Linked DNA regions of Homo sapiens: region 2 is linked to region 1. The links are contacts of gene promoters, found by promoter capture Hi-C in human tissues and cell types (Jung and others, 2019). All regions are on one chromosome and are shown on one strand. The core of a region is centred on a gene start or on the middle of the fragment in contact, and the rest is flanking DNA. Distances in the headings are between cores, read along the strand shown. Region 1 holds the start of KDM5A (lysine demethylase 5A). Region 2 has its middle 17 kb from the start of LINC02455.

Region 1 (3,013 bases), core at 1-2,500:
TTTAAACAAGCATCCAGTTGACCCTGGTGCAAGTGGTCCAGCAACATCATTTAAAAAGCACTGGTCTAATGAGTAAAGAAAAACACCTTTGACCTTGAGTAATCACTCAACCTCTTGGGGCATTAATCCCCTCCACACAAGGGATAGTATCTGTTTTCCTTACCTCAAAGGTGAGATTATAATTAACCTTATAGGCAAACCTAGTTATCTGCAATAACTGTGATTCTAAAATCGTTGATCTTGAGTTCCCTACGTCAAGAGATTTCAACATTTCCTTCCACCTCCACTATAAACCAATTTTTCCTAAACCTCTAAATTTTAGAATTATTGCTGCTCCTTCTCTTTCCCCGCTAAGACTTTTTCACTGCGGCAATAATTAGTCTGGAGTTCTTGTCTAGTAATACCATCCGGTGAGACTAGAGCTCAGATAACCTTTTCAGAAACCCTAGCCCTGAGATGAGGCCTGCAAATATTTGATCCAACCAGGTCTTGAATAAAGAGATAGCCGACTATCAAACCATAATGAGGATACGTGAGGGAAGAATACGTCACGTCATAATACTGTACTTTAAACACCATATCGGCTAACGAAAGGCTTTAGGCCCACGGCTGAGAGAAAAGTATCAGTTCCCAAGTTCTAGGCGGAAGAGGCCCAAGAGACACCACTTTCTCGCTTTCAGACGTGTCTACATAAGACCACAAAAGAAACCGAGGCAAAAACATCCAGAAACAGGCTCCAGTTGTCTCAAAAGAGAGTACATATGAAACGAGACAAGGATCAGAAAAGTAAAGCTAAACCCAGTGTACGGACTCCCCCATTCTTCCTTCTCCCCCTCTCTCTTCACAGACTGAGGTACCTTGGGCGGCCGAATTTTGCAGATGCCGGTTTTCTCCGCCAAAGGCCGGATGCGGCCGATAAAGCTGAGCGGATCTGTGAACTCCTCCCAACTCGGCTCAAAGACGGGGCACTCTGGCGGTGGCACGAACTCCGCCGCGTAGCCCCCCGGCCCCACGCCCGCCATTGCAACGGCCGGGGGGGGGGGGGGGTCCCCGTGGGGAACCGGTGGAGAAAAGCTGGCTGAAGCCCACTAAGCCCGTTCAAGTCCCCTGACAGAGGCCGAAGCGCATCTTCGCGGACAAGAACCGTTCAACACAGAAACCCCAGAATCGCTTCCTCCTCCCGTTTGTTATTGTTTCTTGCAAGGCTTTTCCACTGAGGTTCAGGACTTTTCCGGAAGTTACCGTGCTGTCAAATCCCTCCGCCCCCTGCAGGAAACGGAATCCTTCCGCAGCTGCACGACGCCTGTGTGTCTGGCCTTTCCTTCTTCTTCTCTTCCCCGGCAGCACAGTGTGGCTGTTTGTCTCCTTGCCCGCCAAAGTTCTGCCCAGTCCAACGACTCCACGCAGCTCGCCCTTGGTAAGGGGTCGGGGAGGGGCACAAGCTCTTCTTTACTAGAGGTACGGATTGAGGGAAGCCGACGGGGCGAGGCGGGGCGAGGCGCAACGAGGCGGGGCGAGGCGCGACGCGACGTGACGCTTTCTTCCGGCGCGGAGGAATGTGTAATGCCCCAGAGGGCAGAGGTTGTGCTTCCGGTGAGGAGGGTCCCTTTCCCTTTTGTGTATCAGTGCACTCGAAAACACGCCGGGCTTAATCTTAAGCACCGCGCCTCACCGCCCGTGCTTCGTAATTTGTTTTAACCTACCCTGCTGCGTTTATAGCAAGTAGCCTTTCCAGCATTTCTCTTTTTTTAGCCCTTTGAATGCAGATATTTTACAGTAATCTCACTCTGCCACTTTATACCCGCCTCTTCTCCATCAAAACAAGTGCAGGTCTAACCCATCCCCTAAATCCTGCCAGCTGGCTTTAGCCACCATCCATGAATTGCTTTTCCTTTTACACAGGACGCAGCAGCTCTCCTGAATTACCAGCCAGTATCGTCTAGCTACCTGCAGGACATCTCACTTTGATAACTCAAAGTACTTTAATTGTTCACTGTTTCTTCAGTGTTCCTGGTTTCCATTAATGACTTCATCTATTCAGTTGCCTGAGCAAAAAAAAAAAAAAAAAAAAAAAATCAAGAAATAATCCTAATTCTTTCTGCTCTCACTTCCCATGTATAATCGTGTGTCTCTCCATCCCCGTTACCAGTATCCTAATTTAAATACTCTTACTGACAACAGCTGATTTCTCCTCTCAAATCCCTCTCCATCCACACGTTGGATTGCTTTGTCTAAAATCCAGAATTCATCTTGTCACTTTTCATCTCCAAACTCAACAACTCCAAACATCTTTTTTAATTGCTGATTTGCTGCTTTGCTCTCCAGCTTCATCTCTCCTGCTTCTCCATATGATCTACAGAAGTTTTTGTGGTGACTTTAGTACACCATGATTTTTCTCACCTCTGAGTAACAAATCAGGGGACTTTGAATAACGCAGATTGCCCTCCATAATGTGAGTAGGCCTTATCCAATCAACTGAAGGCCTGAATAGAACAAAAGACTGACCTTCCATGAGCAAGAAGGAATTTTGCCAGTAGATGGCTCTCAGACTTGAACTGTAGCATCACCTTTTCCCTGGCCTCCAGCCTGCCAACCCACCCTGCAGATTTTGGACTTGGAAGCTCTATAATCAAGTGAGTCAAGTCCTTAAAATAAATATCTTTATAAACACACACACACACACACACACACATCTTATTGGTTCTGTTTCTCTGGAGAACCGTGAATACATCTAGGGTTGGAGGGTTCAAGATGGCCTCACTTACGTGTCTGGCAGTTGGTGCTGGCTATTGGCTGGGAAGTCTTAGTTCTCCACATGGCTTCTCATCTTCTGGTAGATGGAGCTTTTCCACTGCATGGTGGTCTTAGCATTCTAAGAAGATGAGAGTGGAAGCAAAGACCTAAAGCCTAGACTCCAAAATGTACAAGATCACTCCATCATATTCTGTTGGTCAAAGCAAGTCATAAGACCATCCCAGATTCAAGAAGTGGGAAAATTCCAATTTTTTATGAG
Region 2 (3,013 bases), core at 136-2,635, 340 kb after region 1:
CCCTAACAGGGTACATTCACTATGAATAATATTAAATAAAAATTACTGAGTGTACCCATAATGAGGAATGTAATTAATCAATCAAACTGACCTGGAACCTATGCAGATATTAGAATTAGCAGTCAAGAACATTAAAATAGTTATTATAACTCTATTCTATATGTTCAAAGAGCTAGGTTGGGCGTGGTGGCTCATGCCTGTAATCCCAGCACTTTGGGAGGCTGAGGCGGGTGGATCACCTGAGGTCGGGAGTTTGAGACCAGCCTGACCAACATGGAGAAACCCTGTCTCTACTAAAAATACAAAATTAGCCAGGCATGGTGGCGCATGCCTGTAATCCCAGCTACTTGGGAGGCTGAGGCAGAAGAATCGCTTGAATCCAGGAAGCAGAGGTTGCAGTGAGCCGAGATCACGCCATTGCACTCCAGCCTGGGCAACAAGAGTGAAACTCCGTCTCAAAAAAAATAAATAAATAAAGCTAGAGGAAAGATTAAATATATTAAGTAGAGACATGGAAGATATTAAAAGAACCAAATTTAACTTTTAGAAATGAAAACTACGGGGGGAGGGGGTAGGGATAGCATTAGGAGATATACCTAATGTAGATGACAAGTTAATGGGTGCAGCACGCCAACATGGCACACGTATACATATGCAACAAACCTGCACGTTGTGCACATGTACCCTAAAACTTAAAGTATAATAAAATATATATATATATAAATTAAAAAAATAAAAAAAAGAAATGAGAACTACAATGTCTGAGATGACGACTCTACTGGATGGGATAAATGACAGATTATCCATAATGTTTTAAAATTTATCCATGTTTTAGTATGTATCAGTACTTCATTCTTTTTTATGCCTGAAAAATATTCGATTGTATGGATACGCCACATTTTGTTTATCTATAATTGATGGACATTTGGGTTGGCTATTATGACTAATACTACTATGAACATTCATGTACAAGTTATTGTGTGGATATATGTTTTTATTTTTTGTGAGTATGTACCTTGGAGTGGAATTACTGGAACAAGCTAGAATTGTCAAATCGTATGGCAACTTTGTGTTGAACCTTTTTGTTGTTTGAGACAGGGTCTTGTTCTATTGTGCAGGCTGGAGTACAGCGGTGCAATGATGGCTCACTGAAGCTTTGACCTCCTGGGCTCAAGCCATCTTCCCACCCCAGCCTCCAAGTAGCTGGGACTACAGGTGTGCGGCACCACAACTGGCTAATTTTTAATTTTTGTTTTTTAGATATGGGGTCTCAGTAGGATGGTCTTGAACTCCTGGGCTCAAGGGATCTTCCTGCCACAGCCTCCCAAAGTGCTGAGATTACAGGCATAAGTAACTGCCCCCAACTTGTGTTGAAGCTTTTGAGGAAGTGCCAGACTGTTTTCCAAGTCAGTGGAACATATATCACCTTATATTCCCACCAACAGTAAATAAGGATTTCAATTTCTCCACATCCTCACCAATACTTATTACTATCTTTTTTTTTTTTTTTTTTTGAGATGAAATCTTGCTCTGTTGCCTAGGCTGGAGGGCAATGGCGCAATCTCGGCTCACTGCAACCTCCGCCTACCAGTTCAAGTGATTCTCCTGCCTCAGTCTCCCAAGTAGCTCCCACCACGCTTGGCTAATTTTTGTATTTTCAGTAGAGACGGGGTTTCACCATGTTGACCAGGCTGGTCTCAAACTCCTGACCTCAGGTGATCCATCCACCTCAGCCTCCCAAAGTGCTGGGATTACAGGCATGAGCCACTGTGCCTGGCCTATCTTTCTTTTTGATTATAGTCATCCTAGTTGATGTGATCAGTACATCATTATGGTTTTGACTATCATCAATCCAGTAGCATCTTTTCATGTGTTAATTGAACATTTGTGTGTATATATGTGTATATATATATAGTGTGTGTGTGCGTGTGTGTGTGTGTGTGTATAGGTTTTTTTAGAGACAGAGTCTCACTCTGTCACCCAGGTTGAAGTGCAGTGGCGCAATCAACCTTGAACTCCTGGGCTCAAGCAATCCTCCCACCTCAGCCTCTCGAGTAGCAGCCTAATAGTGACAAAGATTTACTCCTGTTTTCTTCTAAGTATTTTATAGTTGGACCTCTTACAATTAGGTCTATAGACCATTCCGAGTTAACTTTTGTGTATGGTGTGAGGTAGGTGTTCAGTTTCATTCTTTTGCCTGTGGCTATCTAATTGTCTCAGCACCATTTGTTGAAAAGACTATTCTTTCTCCCATTTAATTGGATTCTTTCTTGTCACCCTTCTTGAAATTTATTTTTTTTGAGATGGAGTCTCGCGCTGTTGCCCAGGCTGGAGTGCAGTGGTGCGATCTCAGCTCACTGCAAGCTACGCCTCCTGGGTTCACACCAGTCTCCTGCCTCAGCCTCCAGAGTAGCTGGGACTACAGACGCCTGCCACCATGCCCGGCTAATTTTTTTGTGTTTTTAGTAGAGACGGGGTTTCACTGTGTTAGCCAGGATGGTCTCGATCTCCTGACCTCGTGATCCGTCTGCCTTGGCCTCCCAAAGTGCTGGGATTACAGGCATAAGCCACCACGCCCGGCCAAGCTTCTTGAAAATTAATTTGTCATAAATGTGAGGAATTATTTCTGAATGCTCAATTCTATTTCATTGATCTCTACATTTATTCTATCCTAATGCCACACTGTCTTGATTACTGTAGTTTTGTAGAATGTTTTGAAATCAAGAAGTGTGCTTTAACTTTGTTCTTTTTCGCAATTGTGTTGATGATTCTCTTGAAATTTTACACAAATTTTAGTATTAGCTTGTCAATTTTTGCAAAGAAGCCAAGTGGAATTTTAATAGGGATCACACTGAATCTGTAGTTTAATTCGGAAGTATTTCCATCTTAACAATATTAAGTCTTCTAAACAGAACATGAGATGTCTTTTTATTAATACTTATTTAGGCATTTAACTTCTTTTCACAATGTTTTGTAATTTTTTTTAAGACTAGTCTAGTCCAGTAGTGAGAAG

What was found. Contacts are between HindIII fragments. The study calls those that stand out against the background at their distance.
Region 2: a contact is called between a fragment that was not itself captured here and the fragment with the promoter of KDM5A in region 1, in 1 of the 25 tissues and cell types used here (dorsolateral prefrontal cortex).

Annotation. Positions count from the first base shown.
Region 1 is chr12:388,070-391,082 of GRCh38, forward strand. It overlaps KDM5A (lysine demethylase 5A), which reads right to left and starts at 1,251. Exons shown (of 28, transcript NM_001042603.3): 1 at 858-1,251. The coding sequence starts at 1,022. LOC105369594 (a long non-coding RNA gene) reads right to left here. Exons shown (of 4, transcript XR_007063149.1): 4 at 1,964-2,872. It also overlaps a transcript of CCDC77 not described here. RefSeq lists an enhancer at 1,414-1,708. The HindIII fragment of the contact is 14,723 bases long and covers 1-3,013 here.
Region 2 is chr12:732,191-735,203 of GRCh38, forward strand. No RefSeq gene overlaps it. Among named protein-coding and RNA genes, the nearest start is that of LINC02455, 17 kb to the left of the region's middle. The HindIII fragment of the contact is 3,427 bases long and covers 1-3,013 here.